Linked DNA regions of Homo sapiens: all the other regions are linked to region 3. The links are contacts of gene promoters, found by promoter capture Hi-C in human tissues and cell types (Jung and others, 2019). All regions are on one chromosome and are shown on one strand. Each heading gives the region's core, a stretch centred on a gene start or on the middle of the fragment in contact. The rest is flanking DNA. Distances are from core to core; before and after follow the strand shown. Region 1 overlaps LINC00398 (long intergenic non-protein coding RNA 398). Region 2 has its middle 34 kb from the start of LINC01066. Region 3 holds the start of MEDAG (mesenteric estrogen dependent adipogenesis). Region 4 has its middle 12 kb from the start of LINC01066.

The links. The method cuts DNA at HindIII sites, captures the fragments that hold promoters and counts their contacts. A contact is called where the count stands out against the background at its distance.
Region 1: a contact is called between a fragment that was not itself captured here and the fragment with the promoter of MEDAG in region 3, in 3 of the 25 tissues and cell types used here (IMR-90 fibroblasts, aorta and dorsolateral prefrontal cortex).
Region 2: a fragment that was not itself captured here is called in contact with the fragment with the promoter of MEDAG in region 3 in 3 of the 25 tissues and cell types used here (H1 embryonic stem cells, dorsolateral prefrontal cortex and mesenchymal stem cells).
Region 4: a fragment that was not itself captured here is called in contact with the fragment with the promoter of MEDAG in region 3 in 2 of the 25 tissues and cell types used here (aorta and dorsolateral prefrontal cortex).

The regions. Positions count from the first base shown.
Region 1 is chr13:30,806,982-30,810,108 of GRCh38, forward strand. The region is part of intron 1 of LINC00398 (long intergenic non-protein coding RNA 398); the gene reads left to right. Among named protein-coding and RNA genes, the nearest start is that of LINC00398, 5.3 kb to the left of the region's middle. The HindIII fragment of the contact is 6,903 bases long and covers 1-3,127 here.
Region 2 is chr13:31,029,101-31,032,233 of GRCh38, forward strand. No RefSeq gene overlaps it. Among named protein-coding and RNA genes, the nearest start is that of LINC01066, 34 kb to the left of the region's middle. The HindIII fragment of the contact is 6,324 bases long and covers 1-3,133 here.
Region 3 is chr13:30,904,803-30,908,111 of GRCh38, forward strand. MEDAG (mesenteric estrogen dependent adipogenesis) reads left to right here and starts at 1,469. Exons shown (of 5, transcript NM_032849.4): 1 at 1,469-1,991. The coding sequence starts at 1,714. All of the region lies in intron 2 of TEX26-AS1 (TEX26 antisense RNA 1), which reads right to left. RefSeq lists an enhancer at 2,070-2,571. The HindIII fragment of the contact is 12,319 bases long and covers 1-3,309 here.
Region 4 is chr13:31,006,517-31,009,449 of GRCh38, forward strand. No RefSeq gene overlaps it. Among named protein-coding and RNA genes, the nearest start is that of LINC01066, 12 kb to the left of the region's middle. The HindIII fragment of the contact is 4,413 bases long and covers 1-2,933 here.

The DNA.
Region 1 (3,127 bases), core at 142-2,641, 98 kb before region 3:
CTTTTCCTCTTGGCAGAATCAGAGCCTGAGTCATGTATGATCTTTCACGGAAGAACATGCCTTTGCACTACAAGTGGTATTTTTTCTCTCAAAAAATAAATTTGTATAAATATATTTTTTTCTAACAAATGCTGTTATAAATGCACCAGGAAAATTTATTTTCAAAAACTGCCCTAAAGCTAACACTTTAAAATTGTATTCTTGTTTGTTTTTACTCAATAAATATTAAGTGCTTATCATATGCCATGCACTAGTCTAGTTGCTTTTCTGGACCTTTGATTTTAGAACAAGCACTTTTTTTTTCTTTTCCTGAGAGCTGAGGTCTCACTATATTGTCCAGGCTGGACTTGAATTCCTGGGCTCAAGTGATCCTCCTGCCTCAGCCTCCTAAGTAGCTGCGAACACAGGTGTGCACCACTGCACCTAGCTAGAACAAACACATCTTTTAAAGGAGCAAACTAGTTTCAGAGTGTTAAGGTGGAAAGTGGCTGGCTAGAGGAGTGGGGCTGGGGGTGTTTCCAGAGACAGACTCGCTGGGGAGGCCTTTCAGAGCAGATGAGAGTTGAGCCGTGAATGCCCAGGCAGGGCCAGCCACATAAATGTAGAGTAGTAAAGTAGTTTAGGCAGCAGTGCAGCAAGTGCAAAGGCACTGGGGTAGGGATACAACTGAGTGAGCCCAAGGAATAGAGGGTGGCTGTGGCTGGGGCAGAGTGAGGAAATACCATTAAAGAGATTAGCAGGCCAAGTAAGGCGGGGCTCTGGGTGCCAGAATGAGCCGAAAGGTTTCATTGTAAATGCCCTGCAGAGCTTTTAAAAGTTTTTAAGCTAGGAAGTAACTTGCTCTGATTTGTGGTTTATAGAGCTCCTTTGCTGTCAAGGAGTTGCTGCAAAACAGTACACAGAAAATGGAACAGTGAGGAGGGGTGTAGCTGAAACGAGACTGGCCATGAGTTGATAAGTATTACAGTTGGGTATCTGGGTATATTTTGTGTATGCTTGAAAATTCTTAGAACAAAAGTTTCAAAATAACTCTTTTTTTTTTTTTTTTTTTTTTTTTTGAGATTGAGTCTTGCTCTATTGCCCAGACTGGAGTGCAGTGGTGCGATCTCAACTCACTGCAATCTCCACCTCCCAGGTTCAAGGAATACGCCTGCCTCAGCCTCCCAAGTAGCTGGGATTACAGGCACGCACCACCACACCTGGCTAATTTTTGTTTTTTGTATTTTTAGTAGAGATGGGATTTCACCATGTAGGCCAGGCTGGTTTTGAACTCCTGACCTCAAGCGATCCTCCTTCCGCAGCTTCCCAAAGTGCTGAGATTACAGGCGTGATCCACCATGACTGGCTTCAAAGTAACTTTTTATACAGCAAAGGAAAAAATGGAAACAGAACCCTTTAAACGGCACACAAACAAAATAAAATAATAGCCGAACACTCTCTTTGGCTGCTCTGTGGAGAACAGATCATGGAAGGATGGGTGGGAGGAGGACATTCAGCTAGAAGGATTTTGCAATAGTTCAGGCAACACATGGCAGGAGCTTGGTCTGGGGGTAGCAGAGTCCATGAAGTAGGTGTGGGATGGTTTGGAGATGAAGCCAGTTGGACTTGCTGATGGACTGTGTGTTGGGGTGATGGAGCCTGGGGGTGGGAGAGGGGATTGACACAAGTGACCAAAGGCAAGTTATCATCTCCAAACGTGCCTTTTGCCACTAGATGGGACTGTCATCTACTGAACTGCATTAACTAGCTTGATTAGCTGGAGAAAAGGTATTAATCATGTTTTTCATTTTTTGATGCTTTGACATCTTGGGTGTCGAACATGGAAATGTCACATGATGGGAGGGCCCTTGAGTCATCCCTCCAAGGAAAACTGCATGACCTAAAATATTCATATTGAACTTTGCATGAGTGAGAAATAAACTTTCAGTGGCTTAATTTAAGCTTCTGAGGTGTGGGGGTTATAGATTCCAGCAATTGGCCTATTCTGACTGATGCAACTGCCTGCTCCAAGTGGACAGAAATCTCATGGATAATTGAAATAATAAGTAATTCCCAAATGATAGTTTAGCCAGTTAATGAGAAGCAAATTACTCCTTCTGCCTACTGTATGTTAAGGGTTGTTAATGAATATCAAAATGACCAGAAGACTGGGAACAAAAGGGGGGAGGAGAAATGAAGGGCCTTGAAAAATGTGTTTACTGACCAGCCAAGCCCTGAGAACATCACTTAGCCAATCTATAGAGGGAGCTGAGAATAAGAAAATAAACTTTAACATAGTGAGTCCTGAATCAGTTATTCATTCATTCTTTTTTTTGAGACAGAGTCTTGCTCTGTCGCCCAGGCTGGAGCGCAGTGGCATGATGTCAGCTCACTGCAACCTTTGCCTCCTGGGTTCAAGCGATTCTCTTGCCTCAGCCTCCCTAGTAGCTGGGATTACAGGCACATGCCACCAAGCCCGGCTAATTTTTGTATTTTTAGTAGAGAAGACATTTCCCCATGTTGGCCAGTCTGGTCTCAAACTTCTGACTTCAGGTGATCCACCCGTTTCAGCCTCCCAAAGTGCTGGGATTACAGGCGTAAGCCACTGCACCCAGCCTCATTCATTCAATAAGCATGTAGCGAACACCTACTGTGTGCCAGGCACTGTGCTAGATGCTGGATATACTGTGGAAAATAAATTTTACATGGTACCTGTCCTGAAAGAAATTATAATCTAGTTGTGGAGATAGAGACAAAAATGAATGAATGAAACAGTAAGTGAAACAACTGTAAGTTGGATCAGGGGCTATGAAGGAGTCAGACTAAGGCTTGAGATAGCACAACCAAGGGAGATTGACTTTAATGGGGAGCAGGGGACTAAGGGAAGAGAAAGTGCAGGCTACAGGCAGAGGCAGGGTAGAGACCAGGAGTGGGAGAGCGAGTGGCAGGTGGAGAAGGGAGCATGAGGCATTCTGGGCAGCGGGACAGCATGTGCAAAGGCCCTGAGGCTCTAAGGCTGTACACATTTGAGCAGCTGATTAAAGACCAGTAGGACAGAAGGAGGAGGTGAGGGAAAGTGGCATAAAATTAGGTGGAGAAAAAGACAGAGGTGGATCACACAGGGCCTGGGGCACAGTGAAAATGTTGA
Region 2 (3,133 bases), core at 599-3,098, 120 kb after region 3:
CTCATCAACTCCAAGACAATGTCTCCAAAGACCATCACACGGGGTCTTAGGCCTTCAACACATGGATTTGTTGGGGGAGGCCAAGGCATTCAGGCCCAACACTGCATGTTTACTGACTTAGGTGGTGCACTCCAACCACGCCACCCTCGCTTCCCGAGGGCCTCGTCTGGGATGGAGCCAATAGTACTGTCTACACACTAGCCTCCTCAGCCAATGGCACTGTCGGCTGATGATGTCATTCTCTGACAGCCCCGCATCTGCGGCCTGGCATCTGTCAGAGGGCTGTCCCAGGAAACTAGGAGTGAGGCTCAGGATGCTTCTCTGCTCCTGTGAAGTGGAGACTAGACTTCTCTCTCTCTCTGTTTCTTTCCTTCCTTCCTTTCTCTTTCTTTCTTTTTTTTTCTCTTTCTTTCTTTTTTTCTCTTTCTTTCTCTTTCTTTCTTGTTAAGCTTGTAGACACACCCAATAGAAAATCAGTTTGAAACAGCACTTATAACCCATTATAACTCCCACAGGCTGGGCACATATATGTGCAGGAAGGGGCTGGTGGGGGGGGGGTTGTCCCTATGTCACCCTAAAACCTCACTGAAGGGTGACTGGCTCATTCCTTACCTATTTCTGGCTAAGCAACCAAAGCATAAGCTTTGTGTTTTATCTCCATTTCATCTCGCCATCCCTTCTCACACCCAGGCCTAAACACTTAGAGTAATATTAGAACCAACTTGGTATTTATCATAATACCCTGGGAGAGTCGAGTTCTGGTGAGAACCATGATCGCTAGTTTCATGGGCTGAAGGCTCCAGGGAGCACTAATCATGGTGTCTGAGTGCATTTGTAGGAGCACATTGTAAACTAATTACCACGTGTGGCGCTCACTCTATCATTACCTTTAATATATGATTTCAAATACAATACAACTCCTATTTTGTTGCTTTCACAGTGCTGCAGACTCCAAGGCATGCCTCAGCCTTAAAAATTTTTGATAAAAAATAAACAAAAAGGCAAGAGTGTTTTTGATAAGTGATAAATGTACCTGCCTAATAGAGCTCTTGGATCATAAGAAGGCATTCAACAACTACTTTTTGAATAACAAATAAATACATTAAAAAATAAGTAATTTTTTATCCCAGCCTGACCTACTGCTAATTTGTCTGCTAACCAGGGCAAGACATTGCCCTATTTGAATATAAAATAAACTAACAACAACAGAAAAAAATATTTACTTTCCTAGGGGACATGACATCAACCTAATCCAGAGGATTTGTTGCAGTAAAAACTTAAAATTTTAGAGCATTTTCTTAAAAAACATATGCGTGAGAAACCAAATAGACACTGGCTTCACTTCTAAATTAGACACATTTCTCTTCTGTTCTGTGTCAAAAGGATGTTTGTATCTTGAGTCCTACTTGGCTATGAAATGAGCTCTAAAATAGATTTTTAAAACACTGCTTTCTCAGGATGTCCACCTGAGGGAGGCAGACAAGCCAACCCACCTTGGCATGTGGGGACTCGGAGCTGGGTAGAGATTTGCAGTGGGTGTGAGGGCACCCAGAGAGGGGGCACACCACTTCAGACTGGGGGAGCGATGGGGGATGTCAGCAAAGCCCTCCCAGGGCAGTCACGGTGGGGCTACAGGACAATAGGGAGGCAGGCTGAGGGACAGAAAGGACATTTCAATTCATAGGAGCCAAATAAGCATGGTGGGTAGCAGCGGGCATAGGGCTGGAAGGGGGCTGGGAGGCATTGAATTCTTTGGAGAAGCTGACTTATTTTGGAGTAAAGGGCCCCTTTGAAGGAAAGAAACATGAGGAGATCAGAAAAGACAGTCAGAGTTTGCTAATGAAAAGTCATCTATGCCCCTGCCAAGGACTTTGTTCTGCAGCCTAAACACTGTGCAGATTCTAAATAGATGTCTAAGGATGCTCACGCTGGTGGGGATTGGGGGATGGATTAGACGGGAGACAGACAGACTGATAGGGAGAGTATTGCAGACATTCAGGGGCCTGAGGTTCCTCATCTGCAAAATGAGGGGTTTCTTTTGAGGACTCAATGAATGAACAAACATAAAAGCCCATTAGCTAGTGACTGGCATACAGTAAGTGCTCAGTAAATAGTAACAATTGTTATTATGATCCAGATAAGAAATGCTGAAGGAACCACGAAAGGCTGAAACAGCAGCTGGGGTAGAGAAGGAAACAATTCCGGAGCTTTTCAGGAGGTTGGGTCAGCTGGATTTGTTACTGGCTAGAGGTGCAGGGCTGAGGGCCAAGGGGCCAGAGGTCACTCCAGGTCTGGGTGGCCCATGAGGCCATTGAGCTGTGTTCAGTTTAGGTGAGATGAGCTTTAAGATTCCTTCCATTTTTTCTTCTACCCCTCATCCTCTCTCCAACACCATACCCACCACAGTAGCAGAGAAGGGCCAGGAGAGAGGACAGGATCCCAAAAACGACACTACTCCCCACCCCTTCCCCTTTGGCCTACCTGGGGATGTCCTCAGCTGTCTGCCTTTGCCTTTTTGTTGGCCCTTCCTGAAGTGCTGTAGACCTCAGTTCCACTTAGCCAACATTCATTCAGCATGCTGTGCGCACCAGACCTCACCGAGTTCAAAGGCCGAGTGAGGAGTGGAGATTAGAGAAGTAAAGAGAGGGCATGAGTACAGCTGGAGTACACATGCAAGCCTGCAACGGAGGTGCTTTAAACTTCAGTGGGCCCTTGAGACCCCCAGGCAGTCACCTACCACTCCTGAGTGTGCTCATGCCAAGTCTATAGTTCCGCTTTTCCTCCTTTCTTACCAAATCCCCAACAATCCTGCTTTCATCTTCCTCTAAGCTGTTGGCCTCATTTCCCACCTCATTGGGAACATCAAAACCATCCAGCAGGAACGTCCACTGGCTTCCACTCCCCCACCCCCCACCCCCACCCCCCGCTGTGCCTACCAGCACCCAGATCACGGACTCCGGTTGGCTATACCAGATGGCCTTTCCACGTTGCATCCACAGCAAATCTCTCCACTCGATCTCAGATCCCAGCGTCTCCCGCCCACTCAAGGGAGCCCTCTTGCAAATCTCCCTTCACTTTCCCTCCTTTCCACTCTCTACTGCCTCCTTCCCACTAGCTAATTAAAATGCTGTTG
Region 3 (3,309 bases), core at 219-2,718:
GTCCCTGGTGCATAGTGATGACTCTGTCAATGTTTGGGACAAGAGTGAAGTTCTAAATAGGGCACAATGGATTTAACTGCTGGCACCAAATCCCTCCCCTGTGAAAACAGCCCCAGCCTCTGAGTCCTGTCTACAGTCTCAGCCCACCCCAGACCCATTCTCTTTGCAGGGATCCTCAAACCTCCCTTTGCAAGAAGATCTTCTGGATGCTTTTTTCACAGGTAGAGCATCCTTCCTGCGCCACAAAAGGTTGAGTGGGTAGTGATCAATTCATGCTCAGTGAATTAGATTTGTTCAGAGAGGCCCAGAGATGGGGTAATGATCCCATGGGTAAAAGATCCATGTCTGGAGAAAGGATAGGTGTGCACCTAGAAGAAGAGAAGAGAGTGGGGCTCATTTATATTCTGAGATTTAAATGAGATGTGGCGGGAGGACTCTTCATCCCATCTGATTAAACCTACACAAGAGTTCATGTGGGGGCACACAAAGACTAACTAAGGATATTCTCTACGTTCTACTCAACTTTTGGGATGTAGCTTAGAATCCTAAAACACAGTACTACAGAAAGCCTCGAAACTAGGCTAGATTCTCCTCCCATCCCATCCAGGCTTCTCCGCAGCAGAAATAGGTGTTTAATTAAATGGAATAATATAGTTCTCCTTTCATACCTCAGGAGATCAATGAGCCCATAGCTAGCACTCACATATTTATAGACTGAAGAAATGAACATATTCTGGGGCTCAAGGAGATCACCACCTACTGGGGAGGCAGGGGAGAAGGGAGGATGCTAGGACCCTGCTATCCCCACTACACGGCACATTGCAGTCTAGGGTTCACCGTGCAGTAGAAAGGAGAAGCAAAGCGATGAAACCCTCGTGGGATTCGTGAAGGCTTTATGGAAAAGCGATGTGATGATCAGTGGGATTTCTAGGGGGAAGGGATCCAGGGCCAGCAACCAGCTGAAGGAAAGGCTGAAAGGAGGGAAATGCAGGGTACGATCTGGATGGAGTTAAAATGGCAGAAAACTGAGGCTGAGTGAGAGGTCTGGTACTGAGGTGGGGATCGGAGTTCCAGCACTGGCCTTTGACAGCCTCTGGGTCCCAGGTGGAATGGGTAGGGCCAGAGCCCTTGCCTTCTTCTCCAATCAACACCAGGGGTGTGGTGTCTTAGGCAAGGATGGGTGCTGTGCGCCCTGCCGCCCACCATAGGCAGGGCCTGGGAACCCGGGGAGGACTCTCCCCACCTCCAGCCTCCGGCAGTGTCCGCCAGGCAGGGCGGGGGCCAGCGCTGGTGTTGAGTAGTGGACCCCAGGGGGATGACTAAGCCTTGCCTGCGAGCAGACTCGAGCATGCCAAGTTATGAGACGATGATAACTCTGCCCCGAGCCTCTGGGGTCGTGGCCGTGGGCCGGCAGGGGCGAGGCGGGCGTCCAGAGGGCGGATAAAAGGGGCCGCGCTGCGCCGGGGCCGCTTTCTCCGCGCGGTGCCTGCAGGGCTCCCAGCGAGTGGCAGCTTGGGAGGGGCCGCCCGGGCGGTCAGACTGGCACCTGAGCGGCCACCGCGTCCCGGCCAGGCGGGCAGACCGACCCCCTCCTCACCTCGCGCGCGGCTGACGCAGGCAGGGCGCCCGGCCCCTCCTGGGGACCATCAGGTGCCGGCTGGGGGCTGTAGGCACCGGACGGAAGCAGGCGGTGTGAGGACCGACGACGCGGGCATGGCGGGGGCGGCCTGCGAGCCGGTGGCCAGGCCGAGCCTGACCTCCATCTCGTCTGGGGAGCTTCGCAGCCTGTGGACCTGCGACTGCGAGCTGGCCCTGCTGCCGCTGGCTCAGCTGCTGCGCCTGCAGCCCGGTGCCTTCCAGCTGAGCGGCGACCAGCTCGTGGTGGCCAGGCCCGGGGAGCCGGCGGCGGCGCGGGGGGGCTTCAACGTCTTCGGTGACGGCCTCGTGCGCCTCGACGGGCAGCTCTACCGCCTCAGCAGCTACATCAAGAGGTGGGTGGCCTCGCCGTGCGCCCTGGCCCGTCGCCTGGTACCCGCAGACGCCTCCACCCGGCTGCGGTCTCTGGGAGCCTGGGCTGTCCTCGCTGCCTGCGACACCGCGTGGCCCCTTGCTCCGTGCGCTTCTAGACTTTCCTTCTGCTTCTATCACCCGGAGCCTGCACGCTCGCCCTGGTTCTTCTGCCTCTTGCACTGACATTTTGCAGCTGCTGCTTGAAGCCGCCCAGAAGGGCATCAGGACTGGGGGCGAGGGGGAGGGCAGGGGCCCCCCAGCCAGAGCTCATGAGTGGCAGATGCTTCTCCCATTCTGGCTCCTTAACTGGGTCAGATGAGCTCAAATTGGGAGCACACCCTTTAGGGGCTGTCTGCAGCTCTGCAAGACTCACATCCTGGCTTTGGAGCATGGGTGGCGGTGAGGAGCAGGGGGCATGCACCATTCTGAGCACTGCCAGCCCTCTCCAGTGAGGAGACCGAGTGGAGAAGCATGCAAAAGCTCAAAGTTTCCCATCTCTGGCCTCACTTCGTGTTTCAAAAGTAAACAAATAAACCGCAGCTGAGAAGGGAACAAAGCCCCTGGAAGTCCAGCCCGGGGCCATGTGGGCTGTGGAAGGCACAGATAAGTTCTGGGGAAATAAGTGCGAAACCTGAGGGCCTTAATGGGAAGGAGGCCCCCAGGATGCTTGACTGTTGTGGCCAGAGTGCCCCCAAGCTCTTCTTGGCAGACCGGCAGGATGTGGCCCAGCCATCTGAAGCAGGCTTTGGTGCCACAGGGTAAAGGAGGGCACTTCAGGCCTGATTCCACATGGCCTCAGGCCTCCAGAGTTCACTCTTGGCAAGGGCCTGGAGTGCAAAGACCTGTTATATTTGTGCTGAGAGAGCCAAGTGCCTGAAGAGGCAAGCATGGTCTAGAGTTTGACTCAGAAATGAATAAGATAGCCAGCTTTTGAGACACAGCGCCTTTGCTACTGGGAAAGACAGCGTGCTGTGGCACCCTGTGGGTAGGAGGGAGCCAAGAGAGGGAAGCAAACAAAATGAGATATTGAACGTGCAGTCTTCAAAACTCTTGGAGAAAAAACCTTGCTTTTCCAAAGATAGTGAGGGCTCTGAATGCCTGAAGAACCATTCCCCAGCAAGAATTTCTCCCTTTCTTAGTGAAATGAAAATTCCAATTCCAAACCATAAGCGGAGGACTGTGGGAGGAACTGAGTCAGATGTGTGCAGATTTAAAAAGAAGATACCCATTGTATTTGAGAGCAGGGTATGAAAAATAAAAATGTCCAGAATGAACGAAGCCGTAAGTTAGGGTTTTGAC
Region 4 (2,933 bases), core at 25-2,524, 100 kb after region 3:
AAGCATAAGCAGTGCGAAACTTTTGTTTCCAAGTGAAGATGGAGTCATTTGAGTCCTGTGAAATGGTCACAGTCAAGGAAGTCTGAAACCCGTTACCCTGTGTGTGATGCACTTTCAAGCATGGTGGAGCCTCAGGAGGAATCTATTGCTGGTCCCCTCTCAAGTTGGGGCACACAGAAGTCATCTGTGTTGGCTCCACTTCAACCTTCCCATTCCCAGCAAGTCTTTTTTCAGTCTGCTGGGATAATGTAGGAAGTTTTGGCAGCTGTCAGAGGATGACAGAGCTTTATGGGGCATACTTCATGGCTGAGAGTGAGTTTTTAACTGAGGCCAACCTGGGTTTTTTGTTTTTTTGGGTTTTTTTTTTTTTGCACTTTATTTATCAACTAGATACAATACAATATTGAGCTTTTTTATTGCTATTTATTTATCAACTAGCCTTATTTATCAACTAGATACATAATAAACTGTGCATATTGAATGTATACAATTTGATGAATTTGGACATATGCATACACCCATGAAACCATCATCACAAAAAAAGTAATAAACATATCCACTACCTCCAAAACTTTCCCTATGCCGTGTGTGTGTGTGTGTGTGTGTGTGTGTGTGTGTGTGTGTGTTAAGAGCACTTACTATGAGATATACCCTATTAACAAAATTGTAAGTGCATTCAGTATTGATGACTTTGGTAGTATCGTTGGCTATAGGTGCAATGCTATACAGCAGATCCCTAGAACTAATTCATCTTGCATAACTGAAACTTTATAGAGGTTCCTCAAACAATTAAAAATAGAACTACCATATGATCCAGCAATCCGACTTCTGAACGTATACCCAAAAGAACTGAAATCAGGATCTCAAAGAGATGTCTGCACACCCATGTTCGTAGCAGCACTGTTGACAATAGCCAAGATATGGAAATAACTCCACCTGGTTTCCATCCTTTGCTAATTGGGTTAGCCAGTCTGGGGACTGCAGTTACCCAAGCCATATTGCTTGTGACTGGACTATGTTTGGTGGGGTGTCTCTGAGGCCCGAGGCTCCCCATTGCCAGCTTGGAATAGTGACAGGATCTGAAGCTCCCAGCGTGAGGTGTGTGTGAGCTGGTGCAGGATCCAGTCTGTGTGGGAGGACGTGGGATGATGCCTCTTCAAAGTAAAAAGTGATGGCCTCAGTGGCACACATTTAAATTCGCTGCAGGAAAATAAGCACACAGCAGCTATTTTTAATTTGCCTTAGAACATGCAAGAGCCAGCATTGCTCATAGAGCAAAATATTGGCTTTGGATAGAGGAGATGAAGAGTTTCTGAGTTTCACTTCTCACTTCTTTGCTGAGAGACACTGGGAAAGAGCTCAGGGAAGACAGCAAGTGGCTGAACTGGGCCATTTGTGAGCCGGTACGAGTTCACCTTCAGTGTCGCCACACTCCTTTCATCTCTGAGGACCCCAAGCTTGTTCCCCTAGCACCGCAGGTCAACTCCTTCATATAGTACTGTTCCCTCTCTCAAGGTCTGCTCCCAGGCAAAGTTCTGGAAGTTGTTTTCTCAATCTGGTGTAAAAGACTGATAATAGCTTGCACGTACCTTTGCAGACGTTTTTGTATTTCGACAAGGCTGAACACCTTAATGCCAAGCTGTGCTGCTCCAGTTGGCCTGCCCGGCACATCAGTGGGCAGCGTGTCTGTAAGGGGAGGGGCCTTTCCTGACACAGCTGGAGCACAGCATGTAGTAGCTGTTTATTCCACCTCGGCAGACAGTCAGATTTAGTTGACACTACTTAGAATTAGATTTTTAAAGCTGGAAAGAACCTGGTCGAATTTCCTTCCATTAAAGATAAAGAAACAGACCTGGAGGCCTGATGTCACTTCAGTTCAATTCAACAGGTGTTTTCTAAGCACCTACTGTGTGCCAGACACCAGCCTGACATAAGAGAAGCAATGAGTGATATGATACGGCACTTGGCCTCCGTCTTCCCACCCTCACACGGTCAGGCGGGGCAGATGCAGGACTGCATTCTTGCTTCTGCAGGCAGGTGCACTAAGAGTGGGCAGACAGACCACCAGTAGGGCCAGTGTTGGAAATCATTCTTCAATTTGCTAGAACTGTGAAGAATGACTCATACAGCACTCCCAGAAGGGTACCGTCATTGTCATATCTCTGAAATCTTGGGAAATAAAGTTAGATCTCAAATGTAGGGATTAGGGACACAAACCCAGGAAGTTCATAACTGTAAACTTCTCTCAATTCAGTTGAATTCAACAAACATTTGTTGAGTGCTTATTTGTGCCCATTACTGAGAAGGGTACCAAGAGCACAGAAAATACCTGTTGAATTGCTAACATAAGAAAGTCTTGTGGCAAAGCGTGATGTGGTTTTCAAACTGCAGCTCTCTGCCCCCTAGTGAGTCATGACATCAGCTTAGTGTATAGTAGACACAACTTAGGCGTAGAGAAAAGGAAATAGAATAGAAAAAAATAAGAGCACTTTACACAAATTAAAGGTCAATAGTGTTTCACAAAATATGGTGTATATGTGAGTGTGTGTATATAATCAATAGCATGTGTGCATATATATGTTTAACAGATTCTTACTGAGGATTATGATATAAGAGAAAATTTGTAAGTCATGATTTACAACACATACCATAGGAAGAGGTGATGCTTCAGGCTATGTGCCTGTGGTAGAACCAACTAGAATGTAAGTTAATAGACAGTGTATCAGTTATGGATTGCCAGAGTCATGCTGCATAACACATTACCACAAAACCTCAGTGGCACACAAGAGTACTCACTGGTTTTCTCAGGTGCCTGCTCATCAGCTAGAGAATTCTGTTGGCCATAGTTAGCTGGATCACACATCTGAAACCCGGCAGGCCATTGGCTGACCTAAGATGAGCTTGGCTGGGAACCAGGGCACCGTGGCTTGTTC